Regions from separate parts of the Homo sapiens genome. Here regions 1, 2, 3, 5 and 6 are each linked to region 4. The links are contacts of gene promoters, found by promoter capture Hi-C in human tissues and cell types (Jung and others, 2019). All regions are on one chromosome and are shown on one strand. The core of a region is centred on a gene start or on the middle of the fragment in contact, and the rest is flanking DNA. Distances in the headings are between cores, read along the strand shown.

Evidence for each region. The method cuts DNA at HindIII sites, captures the fragments that hold promoters and counts their contacts. A contact is called where the count stands out against the background at its distance.
Region 1: a fragment that was not itself captured here is called in contact with the fragment with the promoter of SLC1A4 in region 4 in 3 of the 25 tissues and cell types used here (bladder, lymphoblastoid cells and spleen).
Region 2: a fragment that was not itself captured here is called in contact with the fragment with the promoter of SLC1A4 in region 4 in 1 of the 25 tissues and cell types used here (lymphoblastoid cells).
Region 3: a contact is called between a fragment that was not itself captured here and the fragment with the promoter of SLC1A4 in region 4, in 4 of the 25 tissues and cell types used here (adrenal gland, aorta, dorsolateral prefrontal cortex and 1 more).
Region 5: a contact is called between a fragment that was not itself captured here and the fragment with the promoter of SLC1A4 in region 4, in 1 of the 25 tissues and cell types used here (lymphoblastoid cells).
Region 6: a contact is called between a fragment that was not itself captured here and the fragment with the promoter of SLC1A4 in region 4, in 1 of the 25 tissues and cell types used here (spleen).

Annotation. Positions count from the first base shown.
Region 1 is chr2:64,573,955-64,577,927 of GRCh38, reverse strand. All of the region lies in intron 6 of AFTPH (aftiphilin), which reads right to left. All of the region lies in intron 4 of LOC105374773 (a long non-coding RNA gene), which reads left to right. Among named protein-coding and RNA genes, the nearest start is that of LINC02579, 31 kb to the left of the region's middle. The HindIII fragment of the contact is 4,167 bases long and covers 1-3,566 here.
Region 2 is chr2:64,616,354-64,620,198 of GRCh38, reverse strand. It overlaps LINC02579 (long intergenic non-protein coding RNA 2579), which reads right to left. Exons shown (of 4, transcript NR_034023.1): 4 at 3,717-3,845. Among named protein-coding and RNA genes, the nearest start is that of LINC02579, 11 kb to the right of the region's middle. The HindIII fragment of the contact is 5,254 bases long and covers 1-3,845 here.
Region 3 is chr2:64,499,766-64,504,090 of GRCh38, reverse strand. LINC01805 (long intergenic non-protein coding RNA 1805) reads right to left here. Exons shown (of 3, transcript NR_147011.1): 3 at 3,187-3,572. Among named protein-coding and RNA genes, the nearest start is that of LINC01805, 16 kb to the right of the region's middle. The HindIII fragment of the contact is 3,520 bases long and covers 1-3,511 here.
Region 4 is chr2:64,986,874-64,990,989 of GRCh38, reverse strand. SLC1A4 (solute carrier family 1 member 4) reads right to left here and starts at 1,591. Exons shown (of 8, transcript NM_003038.5): 1 at 820-1,591. The coding sequence starts at 1,346. RefSeq lists silencers at 1,192-1,371, 1,582-2,281 and an enhancer at 1,005-1,589. The HindIII fragment of the contact is 13,271 bases long and covers 1-4,116 here.
Region 5 is chr2:64,539,233-64,543,157 of GRCh38, reverse strand. The region is part of intron 1 of AFTPH (aftiphilin); the gene reads right to left. All of the region lies in intron 6 of LOC105374773 (a long non-coding RNA gene), which reads left to right. Among named protein-coding and RNA genes, the nearest start is that of MIR4434, 16 kb to the right of the region's middle. The HindIII fragment of the contact is 8,455 bases long and covers 1-3,925 here.
Region 6 is chr2:65,396,204-65,400,106 of GRCh38, reverse strand. The region is part of intron 1 of SPRED2 (sprouty related EVH1 domain containing 2); the gene reads left to right. Among named protein-coding and RNA genes, the nearest start is that of SPRED2, 34 kb to the left of the region's middle. The HindIII fragment of the contact is 5,409 bases long and covers 1-3,903 here.

The DNA of each region.
Region 1 (3,973 bases), core at 234-2,733, 410 kb after region 4:
TGATATAATGATATAGAACTATATACACATATTGTACCAATGTCATGTTCCTGGTTTTCACATTATAGCATATTATGTAAGATGTAACCATGGAGGAAACTGGTGAAGGGTACAAGGGACTTCTCTGTACTACAGTTGCAACTTCCTATGAATCTATAATTATTTCAGATAAAAGTTAAAAAACTGCTGAAAACCTAGTTTATAACCTACCTGCACAGCTAATAAATATTTAGAAATATCTTCTTTAGCTGATCATAAAAGGAAACAAACATCTCTAAGCATTCTAGCAGATTCAACTTACTCCACTTCTAGATCAGTGACACCTTTGGGCATATTCAACACTGAATGAATGGACAAAATCTAGGTTTATACAATAACGATTTCTGAATAAATGGAGCAAGTTCTTTCATGAACACATTCTATCTGAATGATGTCAAGTAGCTGGGTGCTTAGAAATATTTCAATGATTTAATGATTTGCTGAAATCTGAGCTGCTCAAACAGGGGTATGGTATTTTGAAGACAGCCAAAATCATAATGAGGTGATAAACACGAATCGACATTTAACGGAAATGAAAAAGGTGAAAAACAGGATACCGAAGCAAAAAAAGACTAAAACTAATGATGTTCACAAGTATACAAGTATGGAAACTCAGAGAAAGCTTGAGAATGAAGCATTTTAAAACCACTTGAAGCAATGTGGTATGAATTATTACTGCAGAGATAAAAGCACTAGGCAAATAAGGTCACAATAAAAAAGAACAAAAACATGGAGACAGGAGGCTTGGATTCCAGTCCTAGCAGTACCACTAATACATGGTTTTGGGTAAATCACTTAGCCTTTCCAATGCTGTAAAAAGTGAGCATGGTGGCCAGGCGCGGTGGCTCACACCTGTAATCCCAACACTTTGGGAGGCCAAGGTGGGTGGATCACTTGAGGTCAGGAGTTTGAGACCAGCCTGGCCAACATGGTGAAACCCCGTCTCTACTAAAAATATAAAAATTAGCCAGGTGTGGTGGCAGGTGCCTGCAATCCCAGCTACTCAGGAGGCTGAGGTAGGAGAATCGCTTGAACCCAGGAGACAGAGGTTGCAGTGACCTGAGACTGCGCCATTGCACTCTAGCCTGGGCAACAGAGCAAAACTCTTGTTTCAAAAACAACAAAAAAAAAGTGAGCATGGAACTACATAATCATTTTTTCTTTTCTAGCTCTAAAATTCTGATTCACAACTAAAATACATCAGGCAGTCTAAGAGAAGTTGCTACCGGTGACTAGATGGATAACTGCCAGTCAGAGTGTTGACCCTACTCAGCAATGAATAAAGTGTAAAGTATTGACCTTACTAAGAGGGAAATCAGTAGTGGCACAATGGTGTGACCTTGAAATTCAGCAGATAAAAATGAAAACACACACACAATCCCAAAAAAGGTAAAATTACTGTTTTCACCCTTAAACTAAGTTAATAAATTTCTAAACAAGAGATGCAATAGTTATAAGATCAATGAATACAAGCCAATTTGGAAGATAAAAACAAACTCAATGGGTACCAAAATTGGGATAGGACAGACAGACCCAAAAGCATGCAGTCATAAGGGGAATTATACAATTGTGCTTGTGCTAAGTTTGAAAGCCACTGTTGCTTCTAGCACTAAAGGCTAGGGGCGTAGGAAGATGTAACTTCCTGCATGGCCAAAAAGTAAAATTACATATATTTACATATATATATATGTTATATATATATATGTATATGTAAATCCATATATATATACATACACACACACACACACGTATTTCATTTGTATGACACACGTGTGTGTGTGTGTGTGTGTGTGTGTGTGTGTGTGTGTGTGTGTAGCATGCCAAAGAAGAGTGGTAAGAAATATTTTCTAGGCCGGGTGCGATGTCTCACGCCTGTAATCCCAGCACTTTGGGAGGCTGAGGTGGGCAGATCACTTGAGGTCAGGAGTTGGAGACCAGCCTGGCCAACATGGTGAAACCCTGTCTCTACTAAAAATACGAAAATTAGTCTGGTGGTGTGGTGTGTGCCTGTAGTCCCAGCTACGTGGGAGGCTGAGGCAGGAGAATCACTTGAACCCGGGAGGTGGAGGTTGCAGTGAGCTGAAACCATGCCACTGCACTCCAGCCTGGGTGACAGAGCAAGACTCTACCTCCAAAAAAAATATATACACACACACACACACACACACACACACACACACACACATATACACACATACATATATATATAAAATTTTCTGTAAAGAGACTCTTTAGAAAATGTACTTCAGATGTTTGTTAAATTTTTTTTTTCGAGGCAGGGTTTTACTCTGTTGCCTAGGCTGGAGTGCACTGGTGTGAACATGGCTCACTGCAGCCTCAAGCTTCTGAGCTCAAGTGATTTTCCCACCTCAGCCTCCTTAGAGGCTGGGACTACAGGCTCATGCCATCATGCCTGGCTAATTTTTGTAGAGGCAGGGTTTTGCCACGTTGGTTAGGCTGGTCTCGAACTCCTGGGCTCAAGCAATCCACCTGCCTTGGCATCCCAAAGTGCTGAGATTACAGGCATGAGCCACCAAGCCTGCTCTGTTAAATATTTTAACCTGAGTCAGAGGTATGGAGTCAAGCAAGGACCATACAATTCTGTGATGGAGGTCAGGCATCTTAGCACAAAATTCTAAACATGTTTTTCATTAGGTCATCTGGACTACTTTTTTGTCAAGTCCATAGTGAAATTATAAAAGAAACATGATAAGCTATGACTAAAATGAAATACACAGTAAGATCAAATCAGCTAGAGGAAAAAATTACAGGCAACAGCTAACTGATACAATAAGCAATAGTTTATGGGGTTGTAAGGTGGAAGTGGTTAGATGGAGGAGGAAGCAAGCAAAACTAGCAACAAATGGTCTCAATAAGTACAGCTCCATTTTCAGTGAATGTACCAAGTATGAATGTACCAAGTAGTTACTCAAAATACTTTCCTAATACCTAACACTGTAGGAATAAGAATGCAGATGGAGGCAGAAATAAAAATGTGCCGTGGGAAAGGTAATTCTGAAATATGCATAGACAGGGCAGACCTGGGATAGCAGTTTATAGCCAGAGGGCGTATCAGGGCAGCAAAATTAAGGTAACTAAGAACAGATTCTACCTACGGAGACATTCTGCCCAAGCCACTTTGTCTGCTGCCCAACCATCAAGGCCAGGCATTGTAAACATCAAGGTCCTCTGGCCCACTAATTCAGTGCTAGTAATAAGCTGGCTTCAAAGTAACATTTAAGCTATGCCCAAGTATAAAACACAGTGGTACACAGCAGTAATATTAGATGTTTCTTGAAACACACCTAAAATGGCAGGACCTATGCTTTACACATTTTCTAAAGTATGTTCTTCAAAACACTAGTTCTGCAGGTGCTACCACTCCCCTCTCCTCTGATCTCTGCAATAAAAGGTCCTGTGGCCAAGTAAATTTGAGAAATGAATTAAAATTAAGGCCATTCATTGCAGGACTCTTCAATGTCCTTAATGTGTGTTGTGATCTCTAAGGGTGGTTATGGGGGTATGATATGAAGTATTTCCCAAACTTACTTTACCCTGGAACCCTTCAGTGGACCACCTCTGGGGATTAATGTTCAATGGGAACACATTTTGGGAAAGGCTGTCCAAGCATACACTTTTTGTGTTAGATACAATTAAAAATGACATCTAAGGTTAAGAAATGACAAAACATGGCAAGAATATGTTTTAGAAATGGTAATGTTCACTTAAAAATACTAATCTTCTAAAACTATAATATTTAACCAGCACTGAGTCAGTTTGTAACTTGATATGGAAAGAGTAAGCAAGCCCAAATGGCCCATTTTACCCGAACAAAAAGTGAGAGAAGACTTTATATTAACATATTAGTCTGAAAAAAAATTTGTGCTTAAGTGTGCCAAGGAGGTAAAGGATAAGAAAGGCAAGACAGTTTTCT
Region 2 (3,845 bases), core at 313-2,812, 370 kb after region 4:
TTGCCAGTTCCACAAAAGAGACAACTGGGAGTTGATTATGATTATATTGAATCTATAGATCAAGCTGGAAAGAACCGATATCTGAACAATATTGAGTCTCACCATCCACGAACATGGAATATCTCTCTATTTATTTAGATCTTTGATTTATTTTACCAGCATTTTATTGTTTTACTCATATAGATTTTGTACATGTTTTGTTAGATTTATACTAGAGTATTTCTTATTTTGAGGTGCTAATGTAAATGGTATTGTCTTTAATTTCAAATTGTAAAACATTCAACATTTTAACATTCCAAACATGAATCAGTTCACAATCTGACCCTCGAAATTTATTTTTCCCACTGAACTTAGACTCTCAACTCCTTCTCTAGCCAGACCTGCCCTCTGAGCTCACTTTTTCCTATGTGTCCCTCACTCAGTGCCCTGTCATTGCACCACCTTTTCTGAGCTGAGACTGCCACTCCAATCTCAGTCCTGCCTCCATTCCTTTGCATTAAATATGCTCAGCACCTCTATCTCTGTATTACGTTGAGCTCTCTGAAATTACTGTTTTTAGACCAAAAAGGGTTAAATATCTAGACTAGATGAGATTCTACTATGTCTCACTCCTTCTCATCCTCCAGTTCTCAGCTGAAATGCTCTCTCCTCAGAGTAGCCTTCTCTGACCACTCATCCCAGCCAGACATATCAGTCTGTTCTTCTCCAGCATTTGTCACTATCTAAAGCAAGGGTGTCTAATCTTTTGGCTTCCCTGGGCCACATGGGAAGAAGGAGAATTGTCTTGGGCCACACATAAAATACACTAATACTAATGATAACTGATGAGCTAAAAAAAAAAAAAAAAAGGAAAAAAAAACTGCTAAAAAAACTCATAATGTTTGGCCAGGCATGGTGGCTCATGCCTATAATTACAGCAATTTGGGAGGCCAAGGTGGGCAGATCGCCTGAGGTCAGGAGTTCGAGACCAGCCTCGCCAACATGGTGAAACCCCGTCTCTACTAAAAATACAAAAAATTAACTGGGTGTGGTGGCACATGCCTGTAATCCCAACTACTCAGGAAGCTGAGGCAGGACAATAACTTGAACCTGGGAGGCGGAGGCTGCAGTGAGCCGAGACCATGCCACTCCACTCCAGCCTGGGTGACAGAGCAAGACTCTGTCTCAGGAAAAAAAAAATCTCATAATGTTTTAAGAAAGTTTACAGATTTGTGCTGGGCTGCATTCAAAGCTGTCCTGGGCTGCACGTGGCCTGCAGGCCACAGGTTGGACAAACTTGATCTAAAGCTATCCCATTTATTCATTTGCTTCCTTGTTTCTTACTGTTTTTCCTCCTCTAGCATATAAACCTCCTGATACCAGGGGTCTTGTCTTGATCAACAAGCCCCTCAGAGACCAGCTGGTCTGGAGACCCCAGATACTTGTCCCACCCTAGGGAAGGGGAAGCACCCCTTCACCCCAAACTTGACTGATGTCATATTTCCAATGAGCTCTGTGTTTAGGAATGAAGCCTAATTTACCTGACATAGAACAATAGGGAAACATGATATTTCTGTCCCTAAATATTGAGGACCAAATTTGTAATTCCGTGATTGTGTGGTTGAATAGTAGCATGGATTGTTCAAATAAGGGATTCTGTTGGATGCAGAGGGGCTGAGTGAGAATGAGCTCTGGCCCAGAGACACCCATTTGTTTCCTTGGCTACCACCTCCTCCAGCCTGTTCTATGCCCAATAACAGAACAGGCTTCCTTACACCCATGGTGCTTCTCCAGCTCTGACTCTGATCTACAACTTCAGTGGCTCCCTATTGCCACAGGAAATATTCATTCCCCTTCCCATACCTTCAAGGCCCTGCTCTCTCCTGCCCCACTGACCCCTCCTGGAGTCGCTGCAAAGAAGTCCCCTTCTTTCCCCTCTGTCCATCCTTTGGAGCTCAGATTAAGCCCCAGCTCCTCCAGGAACATTCCCCATCCTCCTGCAGTATGCCCCCGTGTGCCTCCTGTCAGTGTCCCAGTTAGTCCGCTCAGCTCTCAGGGTTTCTTTGAGAATGTCTGGGGCCTGTTTTAGAGCTCAGGCTCTGGAAGAACAGGAACTGAGTCCAGAGACTGCGCACCAGCTTGTGAGTGTGACTTGTTGAAGTCAAAGGAAGAGAGGCTGACAGGCCTCCCAGCCAGAGAAGAACTTTGTAGAGGAAGTCTCTCCTTCGTGGGGACCAGACTCCCAAGAACATACCAGCTCAGAGAAGTCGGGTGTGGTGCCCTCGAGGGGAATCCATGCAGCAGTTCCTCCCCAGCTTCCTCCCCTCCCCACCCTCAAGTGCGGAGCCAGAACCCAGCTGACTCAAGTGGCAAGAAAAAAATGCCCCCTCCCCACCCCCCCGCCAAGCTGCTGCACATCTGTGCCCAGACAAAGCCAGCTATTAATCCTTGCCTTTGTGTGAGTGTTTGGGTGTTGAATTCCACTTGGATCTGCTGCCTTTTGGAAGGGGAGATTGGAGGGGATTTAGTGAAGACAAAAGGAACCCACTATGGGGAATGGTGGGGGGGGCAGGGGAGCTAAGAAACCCAAGCGCATTCACTCTTAGCCTGGTGAGGGTCCTGGGAGCCCAACTTTAGCTAGAGCTGAGTGGGGCACCTGAATTCCCAGGGTCTGAGTCCCGAAAAGGGGCCACTCCCCGGAATAAAAATACCTGTTTCTCAGGGCCTGACAGCAGCTCAGCTTGCCTTTCACTCCAGATGCTGCCCAGGGCAGTGGCCCCAGCCTAACAGGGCCTGACCCTTTCAGACTGGAGAAGCCCATTGCCCAGGTGAGTCCAAGGGGGACAAGACAGGAGGAAATAGGGACTAGGAAGGAGTCTGGAGCCTCAGAGACTGAGTCCAGATGGAGAGAGAATCTCAAAGCCACCAGAAATCCCCAGCTGAGTCAACAACACAGCAATAAAGCCAGAGGGCCTGTGGCAATGTGGCTGCTCAAGGCCTGGGTTGGGCTCTCGGGAAGAGTTCTTGGGTACCTGGTCAGGCAAAAGTTAAGTGTTCAGGGAAAACAGTCCACACAAATTCTATCTTTGGCTCAAGCATCAAACACATAGAATAGCCCAGAACAGGATGACAGTGTGTGTGTGTGTGTGTGTGTGTGTGTGTGTGTGTGTGTGTGTGTACAGGGTCTTAGAATGGTGGGCAAGTCTGTGGGCAGCACCGCCCCAGCAGGTGTTGTTTGATTAACTTACTTAGCAGAAGCTCTGGTCTAGTTACCAGATTGCTAGGAGAGCAGGCTGGGGTATGAATTGAAACACCCTGATCTGCCCCTCCTACTTTGTTAATTTCATTTAGAAAATGAGATTTCCCCATCTGTGGGTGCTTGATTCTAAAGCTCACCGAGCTGTCAAGTTATACCAAGTACAAGTGACTTCAACTCTATGTGGGTGCGGAGACACACCCCCCAAAGCTTCCTCCCCGTTTTCCCCGTTATCTGAAATGTGTGGTCATGTCATGTCATTCATTCATTAAACAGTTGGCCAAACTACTGCACTGCAGGGCCCAGTTCTGGTTTAGCTGCTGGGCAGCAAATGCAAAATGTGGTTGCCTATTGACACTTGTATTCAACTAAGCTTCTGGGCTTGTTTAACTGTGTTCTAAATGGTGTTTGTACATCCACAGCTATTTTATTCTTTCTCTACCTTAACTCTAAAAATAAAAGAGTAAAGTAGAGGCATTCATTCATTCATGTATCCATTCCTTCAGGAGAGGAGAAGGCAAGGCTGGCTCCAGTCTTCTCCAAACTCTTTCTTGGTCTTTGGGGAAGGGAACTTAGGACTTACAGGTGCTCCACCTGCTGTTGTAAAGGT
Region 3 (4,325 bases), core at 502-3,001, 490 kb after region 4:
CTACTATTTTTAAAAATTATTTTTGTGGTTACAAATTAAAACACATTTATTTACGCCTTTTGGAAAATATAGAAAATATATTTAAATTAGAAACAACAACAGAACTCTCCAGGAGTTTATCTCCCCTTATGAAGGGAATCAGTTTACATTAAATGAAATCTGTGAAACAAATAACTCGGATCTAAAATATTTTGCTTATTCCATCTTCTGTTGTAAGTCATCTGTTTTTGCTTATAAGGAAGCTGAAGTGAGAACCTAATGAACTAAACAAAAAGCTTTTGACAGCTGACTATTGGAATGGGGTGAAGGTCTCGAATGAGGATAAACATGTGTGCTGATATCCATCAAGATACAGATTTCTCTGTTGTCATTAATTATGAAGGGATAAGGACACCATTGTTGTCAAATTGTTTTTCTGCAGGGCCTTATCCATGTAAAATGTAAACCTGTTACATCTGCATGAATTGAAAGGCTTGTGATAAAGGCTTAGCCAGTCATGAAAGGTAATTTTAGCAGATGGTAATGGCTCAAAAATTACCTCTTATTAGTCACATGAAGATATATACATATTAAGTTCAAAGCATTTTTCTTCTTCTTTCCCTCCTTTCCCTGAGTTTCTCTTCTTTAAGACCATACTATGTGACCTCTGGTGTTTTAGGCAGCAAACACCAGCTCAATTATTTTCCTTTTGCAGTGGCTTTAAAATAAAGTTCTTCTGACAGTTTATAAACCTAATATTCGATGAGAAGTTTTGTTTCTTCCACAGTGGCTAAAAAAAATATTCCAAGCTGAAAAACTGGCTTTAGAAAGTGGTGATCACACCAAAATACTCCCATGATTTTCAGGGTAGCCAGTAGGATGTCCCCGAAGTAGTTCCTCTCCCCACAGCACCTGCTCTCTCTGTCTCTCTTGCCCTTTCTTTTCCCTTCCTCATTCTTTCTTCCAAGCCTGCCTTCTCCCAGCCTCCCTGCACCTGAACTGGCTCTGGTTCTCCTACTCCTCCACGTCCACCGTTAGACTCACCCAGTGTGTATACTCAATCCAAACCAGCAAGGCAAGTAGCTCGGACCTTAGCCAAGTCAGACTACCTGTTTTTCTGCAGGCATACTCTTGGTGGGGGTGGGTCTCAGGACATCTATATAGTTTTTATTTTGTTTTATTTTATAAAAAATGGATTCATCTCTCTCCAGACATAGTGTTGGGAAAATTACTTGGGAAAAAAGAATGCTCATGGACATTTCCCCCTATTAATTCACGCAGTGCATTCCTCTTCTTTTTTATGGCTGCATAGTATTCCTTAATGGGGTCAACCACAATTTTTTTTTTGAGGTGGAGTCTCGCTCTGTTGCCCAGGCTGGAGTGCAGTGGCGAGATCTTGGCTCATCGCAAGCTCCGCCTCCCGGGTTCACGCCATTCTCCTGCCTCAGCCTCCCCAGTAGCTGGGACTACAGGTGCCCGCCACCACGCCCAGCTAATTTTTGTATTTTTAGTAGAGACGAGGTTTCACTGTGTTAGCCAGGATGGTGTCGATCTCCTCACTCATGATCTGCCTGCCTCGGCCTCCCAAAGTGTTGGGATTACAGGCGTGAGCCACCGTGCCCGGCCCACAATTTTGTTTTTTTAGCTAATCCCCATGTTGATTAACAGTAAGGCTTCTCTACTGTGTTTTGCTATGACAATAATGCCAGGATTTCTCTGTGAATTTGTCTGGAGAGTTGGGTAGAAAGTGAAAGGAAAGGTGCGTAGTAAGTTTGAAGCATGTCAAAAGGTGGGCAAGTATGGTTTTGGCTGTGATGATGATTTTGGCTGGTCAGAGGGCACCTGCAGAGTATAGCTAAATTCCTTGAAGATGGGGTGGGGGCGAAGGAGGAAGGAAGTAGAAAGGGCAGCTGAGGGGATAGGACAATGCCTGGATGGATGAGCAAGCTTTGTACTTGCCACCATCCCACTCCTTATTAGGCAACCAGTGCTATCTCTCAACTACCAAAGTGGGGTTAGAGAGGCCCAAAGTTAACTCATCTTTTCCCAGTCTAATACTTTAACTGCTGGCTCTTCTGTGCCTTAGTTTGGGAAGGCAGACTGAGATCAGCTTGTGGAAGGTCTTTAGTTCCCTACCAAGGGCTCTACAGCAATAGGGAAGACAGTTAGTGGACTGTGCTTGAGTTGAGACTTCAGTTCTCAGCTCAAAAGTTTGCTTTGCAGTCAGGAGTGGTGGCTCACACCTGTAATCCCAGCACTTTAGGAGGCTGAGGAGGGTGGATCACCTGAGGTCAGGAGTTCGAGACCAGCCTGCCCAGCATGGCAAAACCCCGTCTCTACTAAAAATACAAAAAATTAGCCAGGAGTGGTGGTGGGTGCCTGTAATCCCAGCTATTCAGGAGCTGGGGCAGGAGAATCGCTTGAACCCGGGAGGCGGAGGTTGCAGTAAGCTGAGATCATGCCACTGCACTGCAGCCTGGGTGACAAGAGCAAAACTCCATCTCCACAAAAAAAAAAAACCCAGAAAGTTTGCTTGCAACAACTCAAGTGTTCTTGGGAGATAAACAGCACAGAAAAGCCAACCTTGAGAAAGAACATAATATATCACCTATCTGGTTGTGCTTCAACCTAATTGTGTATCTTTATCTCCCAGGGTAGCTCCATTCTATTCATTGAACTCTGTCGATATTCTTTATGCTCTTTAACTGTCTATGACTATGTCCCCATAGCACCCCCATCCTCATAGCCCTGCTGGCTCCTTTGCCTCCCGTTTACTGTGCACATTCATAATGCACACTTGTAGCATCCAGCATGGCTTCTAAACACAAATATAACTTGTCCTCCAAGCTTGACTTCCTCTAAAGCATTTAAACCTTATGGTTACATTTTTTTTCTTCTTCATAGAATCTTTCAGTCATCATTTACTTGGAAACACTTGTTTCCTACAAGGCTCATTTTGCAAACAGCAAAGCAACTCCAATAATTGTAGCAATATGTAATCTGATATAATATGTATGTATTAAACTACATGTTTATCTGCAGTCTAACACCGGCCCCCAAATAACAAAATGCTGCAAATTTTAAAATTTTGCAGAGTACATTTGAGTCTCAAATTTATGAATTCCATTTTCTTTGCAGGGATGACGAAAGCGGAAGGCTTTTATTCCCCTTCCTTCTATTGTTGCTCACCTTTCAGTCAAAGCATGGGTCTGCTTCCCAAACTTCCTCCTTCCTTCTCCGTTCCTGGGTTTCCCTTGGAGCAACTCGCCACAGGGCCTCTGTTTGGCCTGGGCCTTTCCAGGATGCGTTACTTAGTCTTGGTTCTCAGGATCAGGTGAGGGCAACTCTCCTCTATGCTTAGCAGCCTGCCCAGCTGCTGCCATTTGCAGAAAGCTTGAACCCAAGGAGAAGCCCTTTACGATCTGGAAGAAGGTGCCATCAACATTGGTACCTTTGCTTCTCGCATCAGCACCTGACATGTCTCCTCCTGAAACTTTTTTCCTGCCTGTCTCTAGAGAACCATCTCCTTTTTTGCCAGGGCTTTCAGCCTTCATTTCTCCAGGAAGTGATTTTCTCAGTCTCTCCACAAAAACCTAGGAGGAAAGAAACTGGCATTTCATCCGTAATTGGCCATGGTGTGGTATCAAAAGGCAGTGGGAATATGAATAAGCTTTTTACATGGTTGACACAAATATGTCTTCCAACAAAAACCAGCTCCTGCCAACACTGGAATAGGTAGTGATATAGTTTGGATAGGTATTCCCTCTAAATCTCTGTTGAAATGTGATCCCCAGTGTTGGAGGTAGGGCCTGCAGGGAGGTGTTTGGATCATAGAGGCAGATCCCTTATGAAGGGCTTGGTGACCCCCCACCTTGCTCCACCCACTCCCCCTCGCCCACCTCCCCTACTTCCCCAGTAATGGGTAATGAGTGAGTTCTTGCTCTATTAGTTCACACGAGAGCTGATTGTTTATAAAAACCAGGCATCTCGTTCCCTCCTTGCTCCCTCTCTCACCATGTAACATGCCGCTCTCGCTTTGCCTTCCCACTGAAAGATTCCTGAGGTCTCTCCAGAAGCCGAGCAGATGCTGGTGCCATGCTTGTACAGCCAAATAAACCTCCTTTCTTTATAACTACCCAGTCTCAGGTATTCCTTTACAGCAATGCAAAACAGGCTAATAGAGGAAGAAAGCTGACTTTGTTTTGAGTAATCAGTGATGGGATTACACAGAAAGTCCACGTGTCAAGGAATGACTTCGAGTTATCTTCCTGGAAATGACTTAGAGTATCTTCCTGGAAATGAAGATCAATATACTTTATTCATGGTGTGTATGGATGGGGACTTGT
Region 4 (4,116 bases), core at 342-2,841:
CTAATGGAGAAACCAGGAGAGACCAAGGTTTTGGATAAGTCACAGAAAGGATACTACATCATCTCAAAGGATGAAATGCAACTTCTAAGAATTGCAAAAAGCAGGCAAAACTAAGTGAAGATGCTTCTCTCCCTCCCCTCTAGAACTCACACTTTCGCACAAAGAAAGGCCTTTGAAACACAGCACTCTGCCGTGGTCTTTACTGGGGTGGACAGCAACCTGTCCCAAGCCCCAAGCCCTCAGGAGAGGCATATTTCTGGGCAATATGTCTCACTCAACTAACCCCAGCCCTATTATCCGTGGGTCCACTGATAACTGCAGAAAATTGCCAGCTTCCTTCGCAGCCAAGGACTGTAACAGAGAAGGCCATAGATTGCAAGCCGGATGACCCAAGAGGCAAAACTTAACCAATGCTCCCAGAAGCTTTTAGGCACCATGTGGGAGAAAATGAGGCGAAGCCACTGGGGCGTGGTCGGAACATTTTTACCGGGGAGAGCAGCGCGAGAGTATAAGGAGTAAAGAACAGGCGGGGCGGCTGGCTCTTCCCTAACAAACGCCCACCTAACGGTGGGGACTGGTTCTTGCTCAAAGATGCGGCCCTGCTCTTTCGATTGTGCGGTGCGCCCCAGCTGTTTGCAAAGGTGTGGTCAGCACGCAAAAACTCCAGACGTCATTTTGATATTTTTAAAACGTTAAACGCCACCAGCAGCCAGCTAAGAATTAACTCTTAGGAGTGTATAAGCATATGGGTGTATGAACTGGAGGGCATCCGAGAACTGGCGTCTCCCACTGGGCCCTGGGAGAGGTGGAGAGTGTTACCTGGCCAGGTCGAGGAAAGAGTCCACCGTCTCTTTGGGGACAGGAGGAGGCCCCGAGTCCTCCAGCCCCAGGTCGCTGGACTGAAGGGTCTGCGCACCGGATCCTGGCTTGATGATGAACGCCAAGGCCACGGCGAGCGCCGAGGCACTCAGTGTGGTGAGGCCAAAGTAGGCGACAGCGATGCCGCCCAGACGCCCGAGGCAGCTGGCATCGAGCGAGGCGGCGCCCGACACCAGGCTGCAGACCACCAGCGGCAGGATGATCATGCGCAGCATGCGGAGCAGCATCTCGCCGGGGAAGGCCAGGTAGGTGACCTGCGTGCGGCTCAGGCTGAGCCCGCGCAACGCCGCGCCCAGGCCCGCGCCCGCCAGCACCCCGGACACGGTGAGCAGCACCAGCGCTTGGCGCCGCAGGAAGCCCGCGCAACGCCGTGCGCGTCCCGCCGCGGTCCCCGGAGCTCCGGGCCCGGCCGCAGGCCCCGCCTGAGCGCTGTCAAGGTAGCCGTTGGTCTCGTTGCTCTTCTCCATGGCGCTACACGCCGCTCCGAGCTAGAGGTGGCAGGGGACGTGGGCTCTGGCAAAAGACGGGGTTCCCAATGAATGGGTCGGTCGGCCAGTTGTGCTCCGCAGGTTCTGGGAAGCCGCCCCGGGGGTCTCCGGGCCTGGCGCAGGAGCAGGTGCGAGAAAGGCGAGGAGAGGCGCAGAGTGCGGGTTGGAGCCGCGGGCGGAGAGGATCGCGCCCAGCCTCCCTGGAGCAGCCGCCGGCTGGAGATGATGCAAACGGGAGCCGCGAACGCGGACGCAGACGGGGAAGTAGGAGGGCGCGCCAGCGGCCCCAGCCCGCTCACTTCACGCCCGCCGTCCCGCCCCCTGTGGCGCTGGCCAATCACAGCCCGGGAGCCGCCGCCGGGAGCCGCCGCCGGGAGCCTCTGGTCCCCACCCGTGTCGCGGGTGCCGCAGGGGGCGGCCGGGCGGGAGGCTCCACCCGAGGCCGCGGGGGCGCGGGCGGCGCCGGCCAATCCTGGCGCCAATAGCCGCCTACCCGCCCGGCTAACGGAGGCCGGCTCCGGGCGACCGCGGGGAAGTGCGGGCTGAAGGACCGCCCGGGCTCCTTGGCACCTGCCGGGCCCTCTCCCGCGGCCGGGATCTGAGTCCTCGGGGCCAGAGGGCCCGGGAGAACTTAGAACGCAGCGGCGTTCCTCCTCCTGAGGACTGTGGGAGGGGAGGGAGGGGAGGGGAGAAGAGAGGAGGAGAGGGGAGGATCCCTCTCTCCCGGGTGGCGCTTTCGCCCCGCGCGGCCCGCGCTCCTCTCCAGAGCTCGCCGGCCTCTCCCGCCAGGGGGCCGGGCGCGGTGAGGGGGCCCGGGGCGGTCCTGCCGTCGCGTCCCCTCCTGCGGAAGATCCCTTCTTCCAGGGGTCCTCAGGGGCTTGTGCGGTAAAGCACGCCATGGTGCCCAGCAAGGCCCCGGCCTTGAGACAAAGGACGGACCGGAGGATGGATGAATAAGGGGAGCCTTCGCACGCGCTCATTAGGGCTCTAACGCAGCCATACCGCTAGAGAAAGGGGGCTCGCTGTGCCACCAAACCCGGCGCCCCTGGGCCGCGGAACCGCGCGCACCGGGGCGCTCCTGGGCTTGTGTCCTGGGGCCATCAGGATGGGGCTGGGTCGCCCGCCAGGCAGCTGTCTGCGGTATGGGCGTTTAAGACGCAAAGCTCTTCTAGAAGAAACAGAGCTCTCACGCCACCACTTCCAGTTGGTTTCTGCCACGTAACCAAAGCTGAAACACAAGCCACTGGATTTTAACCTCTTCCGTTCCCAGGCCTGAGCCCTGGCGAGAAAACAGCGCAGACGGCGGTTTGGCCATCCTGAACGGTTCCTTATTGTTCACGTTCTATGGATTTCCTGTTTATTTCATCTTTTATTTGATATCTGCTTTGGCCACGCGAGTTACAAGGGAAACTTCTGCTGAGTCTTTTTACTGTATCACAGTTATTATATTTTTATATTTTTTTATTCTGCTTGTGAATTGTTCTTTAAAGACTTCCGTGGGTGGTCTTTTGTTTTTTCTTTTTCCTTCCTTCCTTCCTTCCTTCCTTCCTTCCTTCCTTCCTTCCTTCCTCCCCCCCTCCCTCCCTCCCTCCCTTCCTTCCTTCTTTCCTTCTTTCCCTTTCTTTCCTTTCTTTCCTCTCTTTCTGGGACAAGGTCTCGCTATGTTGCCCAGGCTGGTCTCCCAGTTCCTGGGCTTATGGGATCCTCCTTGGTAGCTGGCACCACCCACTGTGCCAGGCAAGGGAAGACTTAATTGTGGCTAACCTCAATTAAGGAGGAAGGCAATTTACTATAGATTTCTTGCTATAAAGGAGTCATCTTAAAACATGTCATGACATATTTGTGCAAATCAAAATGCCTTCATAAGGAACTTTAAGGAGCTGTCCAAATTTTGAGACAGTGAGTATTTTATTGCTTGGAGCCAGCCAGCTATTGGCTAGAACTTGTAAGGATTGTGTGTGGGGGGGGGGGGGGTGGGCGGGGGAGGTAGTGTCAGATGAAGAGCTGCACATATTTATATCTGGCTTTCCAGAATGCAGTTCATTTCTCTATGTGCACTGAAGAAAGAGTAATTCCTACAGACACACACTGTGTTTTGCCAATCAGCCCTTCCCTTTGTTTTGACTACCACGTTTATGCAAAAGACTCTCAAATCATGCTCCAGAAATGAGTCTTCGGCTGCCTGTTTTACATCTTCACCTGAATATCCTGCAGGCGTCCCAACTAAAATGTTCAAAACCAAACTCATGGTTGCCTTCCTCAAACCTGCTCATCCCTTCGGTTAAAACATAATTGATGACCCAGTCACCTCTGTGTGAAACTTCAAAGCGAACTTTGATTCTTCCCTCTGTGGTGCCTTCTCTCATCTAATGAATTGCCAAGTCCCACAGAGATTCCTTTCACAATATTTATCACATCTGCCCATCCCATCTATTCCCACTGCTACCACACTGGCTCAGTTCTTATTTCCTCACTTCTTATCTGGGCTATTGAAATGTTCTCCCAATTAGTCTTCCCACCTCCAATGCTCCTCTTGTTCCAACCATCCTGTATTTTGCCTTGCCCCAGGCTAATCTTCCTAATGAGTAATATACATGTTAGGATAAAGTTCAGCTTTCACCCAGCAGAAAAGAAAGAGCAATGAGGGCATGGCATCTCTCTTTAAAAACACTTCCTAAAAGTCATACACATTATTTCTCTTATATTTCATCGATAAGAATTTAGTCAAATGACCATTCTTTTCTGCAAG
Region 5 (3,925 bases), core at 339-2,838, 450 kb after region 4:
TATAAAAAGTCATCAGGGAAAAATGTACATTAAAACAACAATAAAATACCACTATACATCTACCAGAATGACTAAAATTAAAATTATTCTCTCCACAGCCACTTTTGGTAAGGATGTGGAGAAACTGTGATTCCCACACTTTACTGGTGGAAGTATAAACTGGTACAGATATTCGGAAAACTGTTTGATAATATGTACTAAAACTATACCAGACCTTCAGTACCTGGCACATTCTGTGCACTAAGTAAATGATCAACTACCATTATATTTTAACTTTCACCAACTCTGTGGCTAAAATAATAACCTATCTGTAACAAAACCTAAGTCAATGTTTGCTTAGTTGGCACAAACATTCATATGACTCTATATTTTAAAAGGTCACTGAAAGAATAAGTCACTTAAGAAAAATATGCATAACCACACTAAAGATACATGAAGTTGACTTTATTGCCAGTTTTTCTAACCAATCCCTAGAAAATATAAAACTTGACTTATATAACTATATAATTTCATAGGCTTGGGGGCATGGGGGCGGGGGGATGCTGATAACAAACTAAATCTGAAGCCCAAGGTTGAAGGACTGAGATCATAACCTCTAAACAAGCTCAAGGGTCCAGTGACCAGTCTGTTAAAAGATGGAAGTTTTGAAGTGAAATAGAAAAATGCAACCCGGAAGTTCTCACTGGTATCTTGAAGTAAACTGCCTGTAGCTCCTATTTGGTTAGATGAACAACCACAAGAATTTAGAAGGTGCTTGGTTGGGATGGAAAAGATTCATCACATGTGGGAAATATATAGGGTATTCCCTACGTATTCCTCTAAGGAATAGTTAATCCCTGGTACCCTCCTACCCCCAACATCCACACACAGTATCATGCACCCTAAAGGTCCATGGGCTCACATTTGAGGGGGGTGGAGTGTCTCTAAGTAAGAGGCCCTCTAGCAATCTTTCCAGAATCAAACATCGAGAGTTCTTTCCAGACAAGTTAAAAACATACAGCACACACTGCTCAACTGGGAGAAACTCCCATCCTTTACAGGGTACCAGCCCAGCTGTATCAATGTGTACATCATCTTTCAAGGACAGATAAACTGACCTAGATTATACAACCCAGCTTCACTCTAAACTTATTTTTATAGGGACCAGGATGGAGGGTGAAGGAAAAGATATTGTAGAAAGAAGGATGGTGATAAAAGGGAGAAGAAAAACAACTGTATCTGAAATATGCTAATGACTTCAATAGTATCAATGACATTAGCAAAGTATATTTAATGGATGACAAAAAATAATCACCATCTTTTTACCACAATATGTCTGAGGTTTATAATTAGTCACTTGGGTGAGTGAAGGAAAAAACAAAAAAGAAAAACCGTATTTTCTTTAGAAAAATGAATGAAAATGTCACGTAAGCATTAACAACATCAATTTACATTACAAGTGTTGCCTGGTGTACAGTAGTTCAAATTCTTCCAAATCTTTATAATATCCTTATGGAAATTTTAAGGTCATATCAAAATGTACTGTCAATGAATTTGCCCAGCCTACATTTCTGCTTGAGTCATAAAGAAGTAGAAAAGAGCCCTTCTTCTGAACCACATGAAGATTTGGGTTTTAGTTAACTTTTTGGTTTTCAATATATTTAGAGTGCTATGATATCACAGTTGTTTTCACAGCTCTAAATTTTAAAATCTACAGAAATAATTGTTTTTTCTTTTTGGGTGTTTTTTCTTTTGTTCTTAGCATATTAGCACAACAGAAATTAATACAGGCAGAGCCTCTAATTAACTTGCCAGCCTAAAAACAAAAACCCAAGATATCAGACACCAACTGTATGTCACTGAGTCACCAACTGCATAATATGTTATTTAAGATGACATTTGTTAAATAAATAGTATCTTCCACGTGTTTTCACTCCATGTTTACACCAATGTCATTATTAATACTTATTGAGTGCTTACTATGGGCCAATATTATGTGAAGAGAACTCGTGAGTTATCTCAATTATCTCCTCATACTATCATATGAGGTGGAAATGCTTCATTTTAAAGATGAAGAAATAAAAGCTCAAAGAGGTTAAGTAATCCTACAAGGTAGCATAACTAGTAAGTGGTGAATTAATCACAAGTTAATCAAACATTTTATAAGTGTCTTAAAATATTAGACGTGATTGACGGCAAATATTACAATTATAAAAATTCTTACAAAAAGGCTTCTGAGTGGTTCAGAAAAAGGTTTCTGAAACCTCCAAGTAACTTGGAAGGGGAAAGATTTTTACAAGACAAGAAAGTACAGTATAACCAACAAAAATGCCAAGCAGCAAATATCTTGTTTCAGTATTAGTGTATATAGTACAAAATATGAGCAAACAATGAAAATGAGCAGCAAAATACCTTTATACTGAAGTTGATCACCCTAAAAAAGCCACACTGTCAATAGTGACAACAAAAAATTTTGTCTTTCTAGTTTTGATGTCAATACAATTGACACATAAAAGTAAAAATATATATATAATGTCAGTTACATGAGCTGCAACACACGTTCACTTTTCAAGTGCTACTTACCTTGTTAAACAGCAATGAGTTATTTGAGAGAAGTTGGTTTTCAAAAATTCCCATGAAAAATTTTTTCTTCTACCGAACATTTTAACCTTCTACACAAATTCATAATAACATATTTTATTTGCATTTGGATAGTTTCATGTAATAATTAAACAAGATAAAAATATTAGAGATTGTTGTACCTTTAACTCATCATATCAGCTGACCATATTTGAGAGTTTACTAGCTATTTTTCCCAAAAGGTACTTCAACATAAAATTGAATACATAACATTGGATAACTATTGATAACAAGGGCAACAAAATGGAAGCATCCACGAGGATGGATGGATTAGCCCTTGGAAAACATTTTTTTTGCCCTAGAACTCTCAGCTTCTATTATATAGATGCAGAATAAATTAGTCACTCTAATTCTCTACTCTCATATCCCTGAAACTCTGCAATGAAAATAGAATCTGAAAGGCAGAAACTGCTTTGATTTCATGTCCCTTCACTAAAATCTTGCTTACATCCACAATCTTGTCTACAGATAATCCCTGGACCTTCTGTTTTTCTTCTCAACTGCTTGCTCAGGGGCTTTTAAAAATTTTCCATCACTATTGATCCTTTCCTATAAACGTTCAGCCTCTTCCATACTCAAAACAAATCAGAACAAAACAAAACAAAACAGAATCCTCTCTTCTGTGCGCCCTAGCTCTTCTCCTCCTCACCACCAAGCTTCTTGAAAGAGATGTGCCTATTCACTCTCTCGACTTCCTAACTTCCCACTCACTCCTCAACTCAACACAATCTGGCTTCCATGCTACCGCTCTACCGAAACTGCTCTTTCAAGAGTTACTTTATTTGAGCTCAAATGACTGTAAATGTTGTGTAGGCATAGACCTCTGTTGTTTACCATTGCATCCTCAGAGCCTGGCTCACAGCAGGAACTAAATATATTATCATCATTCTTGCTGGGGCATTTATTCTACTAACCACTCTTGAATTGTGCTCCAACTCACGCACACTCCAATTAGATTTCTATAACCACACCTCTGGTCTCTTAGTGCTTCACCAAATAAGTTATGAAATATCCAAATGTAATCAAGGTAAATAAGTGGGATTTGAAATGTGGCCTGAAATGTGATGAATGTGGGACAAACAACCCAATCATTTGTGCTGCAACATGTCTAAAGAGAAAGTATGTTAAGAGGGGCAGTACATTATATGCAAGCTGCAAAAAACCCTAGCTAAATGACAAAAATTTGTAGTGAGTTTTTAGACCTGCTATCATGAATATTTGCTTTGATTTGAGACAATTCCTCAGCATAAGCAGAGGTGTCAGTGAGTGTCGCCAGAGCATAATGCTACACTCTGGATAGTCCAAC
Region 6 (3,903 bases), core at 818-3,317, 410 kb before region 4:
CTGAATTTGATGTCAGAAGGATTGAGTATCAGTAACTTCATTGGAGAAGAGTTTATACCTGTGTATACCCTGCAGTGCTGAGACTAGCTCAGGTACTTTGTTGGGGGTTTTTGTTTTTTTGTTTTTTAATTTTTATATTTCAATAGGTTTTGGGGGAACAGGTGGTGTTTGGTTACATGAATAAGTTCTTTAGTGGTATTTTCTGAGATTTTGGTACACCCATCACCTGAGCAATATACAGTGTACCCAATGTGTAATCTTTTATCCTTTGCCATCCCCACCCTTTCCCCCAAGTCCCCAAAGTCCAATGTATGATTCTTATGCCTTTGTGTCCTCATAGCTTAGCTCCCACATATGAGTGAGAATATATGATGTTTGGTTTTCCATTCCTGAGTTACTTCACTTAGAATAATAGTTTCCAGTTAAGGCCAGGCGCAGTGGCTCACGCCTGTAATCCCAGCACTTTGGGAGGCCGAGGCAGGCAGATCACAAACTCAGGAGTTCGAGACCAGCCTCGCCAACATGGTGAAACCCCGTCTCTACTAAAAATACAAAAATTAGCCAGGCGTGGTGGCGTGCACCTGTAGTTCCAGCTACTAGGGAGGCTGAGGCAGAAGAATCACTTGAACCCGGGAGGCAGAGGTTGCAGTGAGCTGAGATCGCACCACTGCACTCCAGCCTGGGCGACAGAGAGATTCCCTCTCAAAAAAAAAAAAAAAAAAAGAATAATAGTTTCCAGTTCTATCCAGGTTGCTGCAAATGCCATTATTTTGTTCGTTTTTATGACTGAGTAGTAGTATTCCATGGTGTATATATATACACCTTTTTTTTTTTTTTGAGACAGATTTTCGCTCTTGTTGACCAGGCTGGAGTGCAATGGCGTGATCTCGGCTCACCGCAACCTCTGCCTCCAGCTTCAAGCGATTCTCCTACCTCAGCCTCCCAAGTAGCTGGGACTACAGGCGCCCGCCACCACACCCGGCTTATTTTTTAAGAGAGACAGGGTTTCACCGTGTTAGCCAGGATGGTCTCGATCTCCTGACCTCGTGATCCGCCCACCTTGGCCTCACAAAATGCTGGGATTACAGGCATGAGCCACCGCGCCCAGCTATACCACATTTTCTCTATCCACTTGTTGGTTGATAGGCATTTGGGGTGGTTCCATATTTTTGCAGTTGCGCATTGTGCTTCTATAAACATGAATGTGAAAGTATCTTCTTCATATAATGACTTCTTTTCCCAGTAGTGGGATTGCTGGACCAAATGGCAGTTCTGCTTTTAGTTCTTTAAGGAATCTCCACACTGTTTTCCATAGTGGTTGTATTAGTTTACATTCCCACCAACAGTGTAAAAGTGTTCCCTTTTCAGCACATCCACACCAACATCTATTATTTTTGGATCTTTTGATTATGGCCATTCTTGCAGGAGTGAGGTGGTATCTCATTGTGGTTTTGATTTGCATTGCCCTGATAATTAGTGATGTTGAGTATTTCTCCATATGCTTGTTGGCCATTTGTATATCTTCTTTTGAGAATTGTTCATTCACGTCCTTAGCCCACTTTTTGATGGGATTTTTTTTTTCTCGCTGAGTTCTTATAGATTCTGGATATTAGTCCTCTGTTGGATGTATAGATTGTGAAGATTTTCTCCCACTCTGCGGGTTGTCTGCTAACTGTGCTGATTGTTTCTTTTGCTGTGCAGAAGCTTTTTAAGTTTAAGTCCCATATATCTTTGTTTTTGTTGCATTTGCTTTGGGGTTCTTGGTCATGAAGTCTTTGCCTAAGCCAATGTCTAGAAGGGTTTTTCCAACGTTATCTTCTAAAATCTTTTTGGTTTCAAGCCTTAGATTTAAGTCTTTGGTCCATCTTGAGTTGATTTTTGTATAAGATGAGAGATGAGGATCCAGTTTCATTCTCTACATGTGGCTTGCCAATTATCCCAGTACCATTTGTTGAATAGGGTGTTCTTTTTCTGCTTTAAGTTTTTGTTTGCTTTGTCAAAGATCAGTTGTCTGCAAGTATTTGGTTTTATTTCTTGGTTCTCTATTCTGTTCCATTGGTCTATGTGCCTATTTTTATACCACTACCATGCTGTTTGGGTGACTATGGCCTTACAGTATAGTTTGGAATCAGGTAATAGGTTGCCTCCAGATTTGTTCTTTTTGCTTAGTCTTGCTTAGGCTATGCAGGCTCTTTTTTGATTGCATGTGAATTTTAGGATTTTTTTTTCTAGTTCTGTGAAGAATAATGGTGGTATTTTGATGGGAATTGCATTGAATTTGTAGATTGCTTTTGGCAGTATGGTCATTTTCACAATATCGATTCTACTCATCCATGTAGCTCAGGTACTTTGGAGTGGGGGATATGTCTAAAGGAGTCTAGCTAAGATGAGGCTCCTGTCTTCAGGAAGTGGGCAATCTATTTAGAAAGGCCTGGGTCTGTGGATTATACATATGTTACCTTGTATTGTGAGTAAAGGGCAAAAAAAAAAAAAAAAAGTGATGCTAGAAACAGATTGTAGAAATGTGAAGGGTCAGGTTGGGACATTCTGCCCACAGCTGGGCAGGGTTGGACCTAGTGATGGACCAAGAAATTATCTTGGTTTAGGTAGTTGTGAAAAGCTTGACAGAAGAGAAAGGAATTGAGCTTTGCTTTGAGTGATTAGTAGGGTTTAGGTAAAAAGGAAAAAGAGAGACATGTCATAAGCCACAACCCATTCTGGTTGCCAGTGAGAAAAGTTAACCCTGCTCATTTGTTCAGGATGGGGGCGGTGAGGGCTGGGTTTATTACTTGGCGCTGTCTGTGGCTAACTTGTGACAGGCCTGAGTCATTTTCAGGGTACTCAGGAGTAAATACTGTGATAGGGGTCTCAGAGGCCAGGCCATGCAGATGCATAAGCCTGGTGCCAAGATGTAGTGTGTATCTGTTTCTTTATCAAAATTTTTCTACTTTGGTATTTCATTCAAAACAAGGAGAGAAAAGTCAAATCTTTTTCCTTTTCCCTTTTCTGATGGCTATGACTGAATTTTTTTTTTTCATGAACGATTCTTGTGTTCTTATTTAAAAGAAGAATTTGGCATATGGCAGACCTCCTCAAGCTATCTTTAGTTGGTTGTGGGGTGTAAGTGATTAAGAATGCAGCTGTACTTGCTACCAGCACATGCTTTTAAGGAGATTGCTAAGCAGACAGGCCTGGTTAGAAGTTTAGAATAGCCTCTTGGAAACAAAGATCTAATTTTTCAAGTGCATGGTATACAAGAGTCCCTCCCTTCAGGACTGAAGCACTGAGGGCTGTTTGCATCAGAGCAGGGTGACTTATTTGTTTAAAATGGCAACACCCTTGGCTCTGGGGAGGCGGCCATGCTTCACTTGGAGGAGACAGGGGAAGCTGGCTTCACTTCACTTTGTATAGTTTGGCTTCACTGCTCCTTTGGAATAAAAAAATTCTTTACTTCTCTAGTATGTCCCAGGACAAACCCATCTCTGTCCTGTTGCTCAGTTATACTACAGTGCTGGTTCCGTAGTCTTCAAAGCTTGGAACTCCCTCTTGCCTTTGCTCCAAAAATTTGTTCTTTCACTCAGCAAATATTTACCAAGTTTCTGCTATATGCAGGACCGTGTGGAGAACTCAAAGATGAATCAGACGTGGGGCCTGTCCACAAATGTTGTCAGTCAAGTGTAGGACATAGGGCAAGCACACGGGAGCTTTTGCTGTTGTGTCCAAGAATAGCATGATGCGCCGTAGGTATTTGGTGGGGGAAGGAAATTAGTGGGTGGGTTTCAAGTAAACCCACATGGAGAAGGTGACATTTGAGTTGAGCCTTGAAGGACAGGTTTATCTGTGCAGAGAGGGAAGTTTTAGGCAGAGATATAGCACAAAAGTTAGAAAACAAAACCAAAACAG